Linked DNA regions of Homo sapiens: region 1 is linked to region 2. The links are contacts of gene promoters, found by promoter capture Hi-C in human tissues and cell types (Jung and others, 2019). All regions are on one chromosome and are shown on one strand. The core of a region is centred on a gene start or on the middle of the fragment in contact, and the rest is flanking DNA. Distances in the headings are between cores, read along the strand shown. Region 1 overlaps REPS1 (RALBP1 associated Eps domain containing 1). Region 2 holds the start of REPS1 (RALBP1 associated Eps domain containing 1).

What was found. The method cuts DNA at HindIII sites, captures the fragments that hold promoters and counts their contacts. A contact is called where the count stands out against the background at its distance.
Region 1: a fragment that was not itself captured here is called in contact with the fragment with the promoter of REPS1 in region 2 in 1 of the 25 tissues and cell types used here (mesenchymal stem cells).

The regions. Positions count from the first base shown.
Region 1 is chr6:138,920,376-138,926,143 of GRCh38, reverse strand. REPS1 (RALBP1 associated Eps domain containing 1) reads left to right here. Exons shown (of 20, transcript NM_001286611.2): 11 at 5,020-5,107. Among named protein-coding and RNA genes, the nearest start is that of REPS1, 65 kb to the left of the region's middle. The HindIII fragment of the contact is 4,532 bases long and covers 1-3,776 here.
Region 2 is chr6:138,984,667-138,990,114 of GRCh38, reverse strand. It overlaps REPS1 (RALBP1 associated Eps domain containing 1), which reads left to right and starts at 1,862. Exons shown (of 20, transcript NM_001286611.2): 1 at 1,862-2,585. The coding sequence starts at 2,433. RefSeq lists silencers at 1,631-1,870, 2,061-2,360. The HindIII fragment of the contact is 5,323 bases long and covers 226-5,448 here.

The DNA.
Region 1 (5,768 bases), core at 261-2,760, 64 kb after region 2:
TTTTGTTAACCTTATCATTTGCTAATTAAGTGTATATTTTATATACATACTGTTTATTTCAGTGTAGTGACTCTTTATGTATTATCTGTATGCTTACACATCATGTAATATGTCCTACATATGTAACTATTTATGCAATGTCATCTTTTATTTTGACATGCCAAATGACATGGCTTTTATTTAATTAGTATGTTGAGTCCTGTTAGAGAGAATCAAGTTCAGCAATACAAGATGTTGGTCAAATATTCCGCTTATGCAAAGGAGCCTCTGTCTTGTCTTCTTGTGGCTTACTGTGTTGCTTTGAAAATGCTACAAAGTTCATATCCTGATTTAAAAAATAAATTCTGTCCCCATAGAGTTAATTTAATATATGCTACACCTGTCCCTTGGGTTTTTTGAAAACCTTAGCTGTTAATCGTTCTTCTCCCTGTTCACTTCTCTGCTTTTTCTTTTTCTTTCTCTCTCTGTCTTTTTTTTTTTTTTTAAGACAAGGATGTGCTAATAAGCACTTTCCAAAAAGAAAAGAGGGAGTAAGCAGAAAGTGAAGAAATGTGTAAAGGCAGAATTTTTAAAATGAGCTGAGTAGAAAGATATGGAGAAAATGACATAAGTCGTTCTTTCTAGATGATCTGATCAAAGACAGCCAGCATTTATTAATTAAATGTAAAAATGGTCTTGTCATCTAAAGAGATTTTGAAGAAGTGGCATTTAAAGATAAAGTATACCATTAGCAGTTAATGGGCCTTTGATGTGGTTTGTTTTTTGTTTTTGTTTTTTGAGTTGGAGCCTCTCTCTTTCGCCCAGGCTGGAGTGCAGTGGTGCGATCTCAGCTCACTGCAACCTCTGCCTCCTGGGTTCAACCGATTCTCCTACCTTAGCCTCCCGAGTAGCTGGGACTACAGGTGTCCGCCACCATGCCTGGCTAATTTGTGTGTGTGTGTGTGTGTGTGTGTATTTTTTAGTAGAGGCGGGGTTTCACCATGTTGGCCAGGCTGATCTTGAACTCCTGACCTCCAGTGATCCACCCACCTCGGCCTCCCAAAGTGCTGGGATTACAGGTGTGAGCCACCACACCTGGCCTGATGTCTTTTATCATTTTAAAGAATTTATATGAAATCTAGAGGCTGCTGTTACATTTATTGAATTCAAACAGATAATGTACAATTTTAAAATGTTTATTTTATTGTCTATTAAGTATTCAAGGACCAGTTGATATGTAGATTATCTCTGCCTTTTGCTCCTCATTTCTTGCTACATTTAAGGCATTTATTTTTTATTTTAGTCTCTGAAAAATGTAGGAGAAATACAAGGCAATGATTGAAAACTTTGCTGCTTATTGGCAGCTATAATTAAGATCTCTTAGGAATTGACAAGTTCTGTAAATTAGAAGTTTTATCTTTGTTTTCTTTTTAAGTTTAAAGTTTTGCCTTTAAGCTTTAAGTTTTGATTCTCTATATTATTCCTGTCTCATTATTGTACAGTTAAGCTAATATGAAAGTACTTAATGAAAGTATATGGGAAGGAAGGTTAGATGTAGCAATAAAGAAACTATTATATTCTCTAACCCTTAAAAAATAGTGACAATAATCACTCATAGTATTATGATTCTTTGTCAGGCCAGGCAAGAACATTATGTATAAAAATCTAGAACTCAGAAGCGAAATAAATTGACCTACGACTGACAGGAAATGTAGAGAAATAGTTGGTTGAGTAGCAGTGATATTATTGACATTTCTTGGAAATAATATTCAGATTTGCAGCTCTAGTGTCTAAAATTATGTGGCTCATTACTTTCCTTTGTTATCTCTAGTGTGTCAGGAGGCTCTAGGAAAATAGAGTGATTAATTTGCATTTTAAACTTGAATTTAGACCTCTGAATTGGATTTTAAAAAATTGTCATTCTTAAATATTTATGTTTATAATCTAATGCCTAGAAATATTTATTTTATGTTGGCAAACTTAAATCTGAACTTTGTTTCCCAACCAGTATTCTTACTTTAAATTTTCGGTTAGAAGAGTAGCCTGCTTTCTCTTAGTTGTGTCCTACAGTGTCTAAGTTTCTTAACCTTCATTTGATACTTACCTGAAGTATTACCCATCTACAGACCCACTACAGCCTGTAGCCACAATCCCACATGATCCTTTGCAAGGCTTTATATAAATAAGGATTATAAGTAAGTAAATAAGGCACATTCAGATTACAAGGGAATCACCTGGGGGGAAAAACTCTACTCTTCTATTATGAATTTAACATTTCTTACAGTATTGGAAATATTTAACAGACTATTAAAAAGAAACTAAATTGTAATAATTAGCCATTTGCTCAGTAAAAGTCAGTGCAAAGTTCCAAACTGGTCTGTAGCATTTAGAGACAACCACTACACAGTGCAGTGACCCCATTTGCAAACCAGATGGTTAGTTATTAAGCTTTCATAGTTCTGATGAAATTGAGATTCTGATGGTCTTGTTTCCAGAAACTTGATCTCTTTTCTTGAACTGCTTGTCAGTTAGTAGCCTTTGGTAGAATCTGCTTCTGCTAGGATATACATGAATGAAAACACAGGAAAATTGTAGGTGGATGAGAAGTGTAATGCGTTAGTCTTTGCTGTGATTGATTGCACTGCAAATATATGAAAATGCTAGTTAACATTCCCAGCTGTTCCAAGCTTTATAAATCTGATTTTATATACACATACACATACGTCGAATATAGATTAGATGAATGTTATGAATTAAAGCATCTAAGAAGTTTTTCTTTTTTAAAATTTCTAATTTGCTTTGTATTTGGAATAAGACTTATTTTCTCATGAACTATCATTTTTTTCTCCTTTGATCTTGCCTTATAAAGGTAAATTCTGATTTTCTTAACAGTTATTTCTGGTATTAAATGTAAATTAAGAAAATAGTAGAGTTGCTCCTAAAGCCATGTTTTTATAACCAACATATAACTTAATATCTTAAAGGTATTCTTATAAATACTTTCCTGAGAATGACTTATTATTATAAGACAAATCTAAACTTTCATCCATCTATAATGTTAATATTATTTGTAACTATAATTTTTGAGTTGTAGGGCAAATGTTAGGTTGATTGGTTAAGTACATGAACCCTGTCCAGATTCTCTGTGGTGTAGGGGCAAGAAATTACTTTGAATGAATTTGTTAGTATAATAGATGTAAAGAATTTGTTACAAGTTGTTTGAATTCAGAGATAAACATAAGGCAAGGAGATATGTCAGATAAGAGAGGGTATGCTGGAACTTCGCTTTCTCTAGCAAGGGCTTGGTGTTAGCACAGTACTGTCTCACCAAAACAGTTTCCAACTTAAACTGAAAGGCCATTATCCTCCACACTAAATTATAAACTTAATTCATGACTAGATATTCAAAATTTAGGATCTCAAATTCAGTCTTTAGCGGCCGCATATACAGAGTGTGAACTGACCCCTCATAGAAGGAGCTGGGCCCCCTTGGTGATGTTTCTCAGCTGGTCTATTGCTGTTAAGCCAGGTGCTTGATCTGGTTCTGGTTTCTGCCCTGGGAGTCTCAGTCCCTAAGATCAGGCCTACTGTGTCCTAGGTACACCTCTCTTTTTCTTCTTTTTCTGAGAGGCTACCATTGTCTTCATTCTCTCATCCTTTCTTTTGTGCTTTCATTCTAGTCAGAAGTCTTTATTATCAATTCCTTTAGTCCTCTAACTAGACTAGACTCTCATGAAGTTTAGAAATATCAACTGTATTACAGTAATGAAAAATGTTTAAGAAAAGTATTAGCTTCTTAGAATGGGAGTCTTGTTCCTCTTAAAAAAAATGGATTCCTTTGTGGCAGTTTCATGCTAAATTTTGAGACAATCAAATTTAAACACTTTGAATTAATCCGTAGGAAGTTTGTATTGTGCCTACTATTGCAATGTCATAGGCATCTCATTAACTTTGTTTTATAGGTTAAAGAAAGTGTCAAATTTTCTTGAGCAGTTTACTGAAAATGAGTTTTCAGTCTGTTACTTAGATTTTGGATTCTCATGAAATAGTTTATTTTAACTTCAAGGCTCACATTTGCATAATTTTATCAGATCATTCCTCACTTTTTAATATTGTCTTGAACTGTGTTTTTATAAGAGCATTTTTTAAATGTAAATCTCACACACACACACACACACACACACACACTTTTTGAGATGTGGTCTAGCTCTGTCACCTAAGCTGAAATGATGTGGCATGATCACAGCTCACTGCAGGTTCCACTCCCCAGGCTCAAGGATCCTCCTACCTGGCCGGGCGCAGTGGCTCACGCCTGTAATCCCAGCACTTTGTAGGCCGAGGCGGGCGGATCACAAGGTCAGGAGTTCGAGACCAGCCTGGCCAGCATAGCGAAACCCTGTCTCTACTAAAAATATAAAAATTAGCCGGGCATGGTGGCAGGTGCCTATAATCCCAGCTACTTGGGAGGCTGAGGCAGGAGAATCACTTGTACCTGGGAGGCGGAAGGTTGCAGTGAGCCAAGATCACGCCACTGTACTCCAGCCTGGGCAACAGAGCGAGACTCCATCTCAAAAAAAAAAAAAAAAAAAAAAAAAAAGGATCCTCCTACCTAAGCATCCCCGAGTAGCTGGGACTATAAGTCATGGGCTATGCCCAGATCGTTTTTATATTTTTTGAAGAGACAGGGTTTCACTATGTTGCTTAGGCTATTCTCTGGGCTCAAGTGATTCTCCTGCCTTGGCCTCCCAAAGTGCTGGCATTACAGGTGTGAGCGTCAGTGCCCAGCCTTCATGTAAATCTTTAATCACTCCACTTAAAATGTTTTTTTTTTTTAATTAAGCAGATACTAGGCATATATAGTGAGCTTGATTTTTAAATAGAATTCTAGAGCTTTTAACTTACAAAGCTTATTTTCATGCCTGCCTTAGTGTAAATGGGAAAGCCTGTCCACTGGTTTTTAGTTTTGTTTGTTTTGATTATTGCATGGCATTAGCTTGACATTTTAATACAAATTCTTTATTTCCTCCCATTTGTCTCTAGGATACTGCTATTGTTCATCCAGTTCCCATTCGTATGACTCCAAGCAAAATCCACATGCAGGAAATGGAACTTAAAAGAACTGGCAGCGGTAAGGAAGCTGTTGCTGGTTTGTATTTTAGTTTTACATCAAACTGAAATATGTAATTATTCTGTCAAGGTTCAAATTTCTTTCATCGCTTATTTTTTAAGCTAGTACTTTCTACAATTATGTATATGTTCATGCATATTTATTTATGTTGCTGTTTTTAAAAGGAATTTATTTTAAATTACGGAGTTTTAAAATAAGGACATTTGAAAATGTGACATTTCTAATACCCCGTGGGTTTTTATGTTCATCCTTGTAAATTTACGTTTAAAATATGTTAAAACTTTAACTGAAGAGATATATGTTAAAATAAATTTTGGCTTTGAAATTATATATTTTGCTTGAACTCTTGGAATGTCTCATTTTAGACTAAATGTTTCAGGGTTTCTCAAAGGTAGATTTTTTTTGTGTAAGTCAGCGTTATAAATTAACTTACTTTACAGTTTACATATGTAGTGTTTAAGTGTGCTGCAGGAATAAAATTAAGTGTGAACATGCAAATAAACTTTTTCATTATAAACTATCTTCTATTATGGCAGAAAATAAAATTATAAATAAACAGTTTTACATTTGTTTTTATTAAAAATATTATTTTGTCTTACATTTTATGGATTTACCTGCCACTTCTTTGGATATTTAAATGAAGTCTTACACTCTGAGCTTT
Region 2 (5,448 bases), core at 613-3,112:
TGAGCCCAAGAGTTTGAGACCAGCCTGGGTAACATGGCAAAACTCTGTCTCTACAAAAGCCACATACACAAAATTTAGGTGGGCATGGTGGCCTGGGCCTGTGGTCCCAGCTACCTGGGAGGCTGAGGTGGGAGAATCACCTGAGCCTGGGAGGTCGAAGCTACAGTGAGCCAAGATTATGCCACTGCACTCCAGCCTGGGTGACAGTGGGAGACTCTGTCTCAAAAGAGAAAAAAAAGGAATTCAGATAAGGGGATAGTGCATGGTGGGATTATTTTACAGCAGCTGTTGCAGGAAGGCTGCTCTGAGGAGGTGACATATGAGCAGGGACCTGAAACCATATGAGAGAATACGCCATGCCATGGTTTGTGGAAGGACTATTTTAGATGGCAGGAACAAAGGCCCTGGGGCCGACAAGAGCTGCAAGGCCTAGGAGAGGTGGCAGAGAAAAAGATGCAAAGACAATTGTGAGCCAATCCCTACCCCATTGTGCTCTTTCTGTTTACACCTTTGGAAGGCAGCTGTCTGGGGGGGGTCTGATCACTTGCTGCAGGTGCCCTGAAAGGACACATGAGGGGCTGCTGTAGCAAACTGAAAGTCTTAGAGATGGGAAATAAGCTTAATGGATAGTATATACTTACCTTTATCAAATACTACTAGTCAAGTCAGAAGACATTGACAGGTCTAAAATCCCTTATCTTTCTTAAAAAATAGAAAGATAATAGAATGCCTGTGACTGTGTACATATTAACATTCTACAAAGACCTGGAGTGAAATGAGTAAATATTGACACTAAGTGGGATCCATAAAGGCTAGAAATAGCTTCATGCAAGCTTAGTTTAGATTTTGCCTCCAAATGAGGCAGGGCAGGTTTTACTTCCAAAGGGTTACAAAAAAAAGTCTTTGGGTTTTCAGTGCGCTTTGAATTTTGCAATTACAGATAAATGACTGGGAACCTGTAATAATTTCCTCATATGTGTCATTTATAGGATCCGCACTCTGGGAAACAACTTGTAGAAGACAAAATAAAAACCAGAACTCTGGGTAATTCTGCCTTAGCTCCCGTCTTTGAAGTATTTTATATTTGCTAAGTATAAATTCTTAAGATATTCTACTTGAAATAGCTGAAGAATCCCCTCTCTGGGACAGGTGCAGATTAAAAGAGCGCCACTCCATGATTTTCATAAAGGAGAAAATACGGAAGGCAGCCCCTGTGGGCAGCCCCGGGCCTACATGAGTTGATAGAGTTGAAGGTATAAATGTAGAGTATTAAGTTCCCAGTGACCGGAATGACCTGGTGAACAAAGAGGACAACTTTGCCAGTTTTCCCCTCTATTCAGCACATTTTGTTTCTCAGGTAAACATGGCTTGAAGCACGAGTGAGATGAAGCCTCAATGTTGGTGTCTACGTGGAGGCTTCCCGGATAGCCAGGATGTTCATAGCCCGGATGTTCATAGCCCTTCAGAACAGATGGAAATACTGCATTTATCTTCATCTGTACCGAAAAGGTACAGATAGAATGATAATAACCTGAACAAGGCTCCCCTTTCAATCCAATTATTCAGACGCTTAGGACCAGAAACTGCGAAACATAAAAACTGCAACCCGGATCTTAGTTATCTCGGTCTTAATGAGCTGCCGGCTGTTTCCCACTGCACCCCCCTTTCCGGGGGTCTTGCTGCTGAGATCTCCGCGCAGAGGGCGGCTCGGTCATCCCGCCGCCGGGCGCCGGCCACCAGGGGGCGCTGCGGCCTCCTCCCTCTCCCGGGAGCGGCCAAGCCAGCCCGGTGGGTGTTTCTCTCTCCCTCTCGCGCTCTCTCCTCCCGGCCTCACATCCGGGTCTGGAGCGCGGCCGCCGCTGTCACTGTTGGTGCGGGCGCGTCGGGGCCGGGCCGGGGCACTGTAAATGGCGGCGGAGGGAGGCGGAGCGGCGGCCACGCTCAGCCCAGATCCCCCGAAACTTTAGGTTCGAAGCCCCACAACTTTCCGGGAAGCGCTGCCGCTCCGGAGGCGTGGACGGAAGGGGAAGCCGAGGCGGGAAGTCTGGGGGAATCGGCAGGGAGCCGGGGAGACTCGAACCCGCGGCGGGGGCGGAGTCCGCCAGTGCCTCGCGCCTCCGCGGCCCCCGCCTCTTTCTCTGCACCCTCCCCGCGGCCGGAGCCGGAGCCGGAGCCGGAGCCGTAGTCGCAGCCGCAGCCGCAGCCGCGCGCCGGGCCTCGCAGGCAGCGGCGCGGCGAGCGCAGCCGGGCCCCCTCCTCGCGACCTCCGGGCCCTGTTGCTCGGGCGCACCTGGCGCGTGTGAGGCCGGGGCCGGCGTTTTCGGGAAGCTAGCAGGAGGCCGGGCCACGCGCAGCCCCTGCCGGCCCAGGTTCCTGGGGCCGGGCCCCGAGTAGTGCATGCGGGGCGGGGCGGCCGTGAGCCGGAGGCGAAGATGGAAGGCTTAACGCTGAGCGATGCGGAGCAGAAATACTATTCAGATCTCTTCTCCTACTGCGACATTGAGAGCACCAAGAAGGTGGTGGTCAACGGGCGGGTGCTGGAGCTGTTCCGGGCCGCGCAGCTGCCGAACGACGTGGTCCTACAGGTAACGTCGCGTCCCGGGGCCGGCGGGCGGCTTAGGCCTGCAGTCACTGGCCTCCAGGAGTGGGAGTGGGCGCCGATTCCTTGGGGCCCGGCGGGGGGCTGGTTCCTCGGGGGGTCCCCGCAGCGGGCAGGGGCCGCAGGTGCCCGGGAGGCCTGGACTCGCGCCGCGGCCAAGGGGGAGGGGGTTGCCCTTAGAGGACGGAACTCCTGTGGTGGGGGTCTGAAGAGCCTCAGCCGGTATCCCCCACGACCCTGAGAATCTGTGCTCTGTACTGCAAGAGCTATCTCACTTGAAGGATCTTAGGTTGTTAATGTGTGTGAATCCTAGAACCTGGCATATAGAGAGCTTTTCGGATCCTGCAGAGTAGTAAAGTTATCAGTATGGGCAAAATGGTTTTTTTAATTCTTGGATTAACCGAGAAGACGTGATAAAGTGAGTTCTATAGATTTAGGAATCGAAGAAGCAGTTTTTTTAAAGGAAGCAAAATTCTTAGGGAAATTTTTTAAAATGTGAACTACTTAGTAGTTTTACAAGTAGGCATACAAGAAGTTGTAATTATCTGTAGAACGTGTGTATGTGATGAGACTGAACAATGTTTTTCAACAGGCATTCGAAAGCATTTGTGGAACTTGTGGATTTGGGTTGGGAGATGAGTATTGAACAGCTGGTAGGCAGAAGTGCGTTATTTGCCCTAATCTGAAGCCCTGGAGGAGCAAACCCTGTAGGTTTAAAGCCTTTTTTTATCATATCTGCTTTTGAAACAGAGGACTTCCTAGAAGTTCTTATCTAATGTATGTGGTGAGCATTAATGCTACTCTGTTTAATGATTCATAGCTGCTAGTAGGAGTCTGTCTAAACAGTATGTTAGGAACAGGTTTTAAGCTTTCATCTTTTATATTGATCCAAGCTAGTTATCCACATCTCCAAAATTTAAAGCCACATGTATAGGTGTATGTAGTGGACTGCAAAGCATTGGACCAGGGTTTTGAAGGCTGGGTCCTTGACCCTACTCTGCTGTTAACCAGCAGTGTGACTTTGGGTCAGGCACTTTCCATTTTCAAGCATAAGTATGTTCATCCACAGAATGAAGGCAAGTTTCTTCCAACAAAAATTCTGTGAAGAATAAAAATGTCCACACACAGGTCTCTGTTTTAGAAGTTAAGTCTGCATTAACTATGACTAAGTTGAACGAGTTCGATCTTTTTAAATGGTCTTGTGTTTTACATTGCTTTTTTAAAGGTGGGATGTCTTACGTGCCAGTGAAGGGCAACGAGGAGTCCCAAATTCATCCTGTTGAAAAGGGACAAATAGTAAATATTTTGGGCTTTGCTGGCCACATATGCTCTCTGTTGCATATTCTTCTTCTTGTGTTTACAAAACACAAAAATGTAAAGCCATTCTTAGCTCAGGGAGATACAAAACAAAGCCTGTGGTCTGCTAACGAAGGGTGCTGGTAGTGTGGTCTATGGTACTCTCCTGTTACAGCTTTGGAGTAGGACTTAGAGATCTGGTCAGAACATGCTCATTAATCATACTCTTTTTGCTCCTTTTGAAGAAATAACAAAGTATACCTTCAAGTTAGGATCTAAATAAAATTAAGGAAAAGCCTTCTCTGTTCTATTTTAGTTTGTCTTTGAGGTGAGAAAGAGTTGAAATAAAACTTTCAATCTTTTTAATGGGTACACAAAGACTTTAGAACTTGAAATGTAATTTTTAGGACAGACACATTAGCATTAATGAATCTTTACTTCAAACATGTTTAATTCAGTGCAAGTTATTTTTATGTTTTGCTCAATTTTATTAACATTCAAAAAATAAATTTCCATTGTCTTTTGGCATAAAGAGAGAGCTTAAATATTCAGGGTTCAGTTACAAGTTGGAACTCCCTGGAGCAGAACTCTTACAGTTATGTATACTAAATAGCAGTCTAGATATCTTGAAGGCAATTTACTTAAAAATTGGTCTAAGACATAGAAATATGAGACAAAAGGAGAATATGTGCTTAATTCCCTTAAGGGAGTTTGGGATTGTCTGAAAACACAGTCCTCCATTGCTTTCTAAGTGGGAAACATTTGGGGCAGCTCATATCTAATGCTTAGTTCTCTACTTAACACTGGGCTAGGCATTGCAGGCATCAGAAGAGGAGTAAGAAGCTCTTGAGGATCTTGTCAATTATAGGAGTGCTCATGTATAACATAAGGTATAATGTATGCCATAGGAGAGGTGCCAAGTGTTATGAAATGCTAAGGAGGTATGACCAAGAAAGGCTTTTTGACTTAATTCAGATGGACTTTAAATTAGGGTGGAGTGAGGGGAATGGAATTATGAGGGCTTCCAGGCAGAGAAAAGTGATCAGAAGTGGAAAGTGTAGGAGCCTTTTCAAGGACTAGTGTTTTCGGGATAACAGAATATAAAATTAGAAAGAGGCCATATTGGGAAAGACTCTGAAGAAGGGCAGCAGATAACGATATTTCAGCAAGCAATGGAGACCCATTGAAAAGTTTTTGACTTTGAGTGGCAGAAAGGGTAAGGAATGACACTCTTTCAGTGGTCTGGATTGGGTGCTAGGTCATGGACATCCAACCAGGGTGACAGCAGTAGAATAGAAAGGGAGAGACTGGATATGTTATTGAAGGACTGCTGGGTAGCCACTATATGAGGTGCTTTGTGGAATAATGTTTAATTGAGGCCAGATTATCAAGGTTGGATGGAGAGCTTTGAACTAATTGTGTAGGTAACAGGGAGTGGTAGATTTAAGAGAAATGACTCATAAAGCAGTGCTTTAGGAGTCGTTTGTCAGGGCCACAGGAATTAGAGGAATAAAACTGTAGACTTAACTTGGGGGCTGATTTTGTATGGCAGA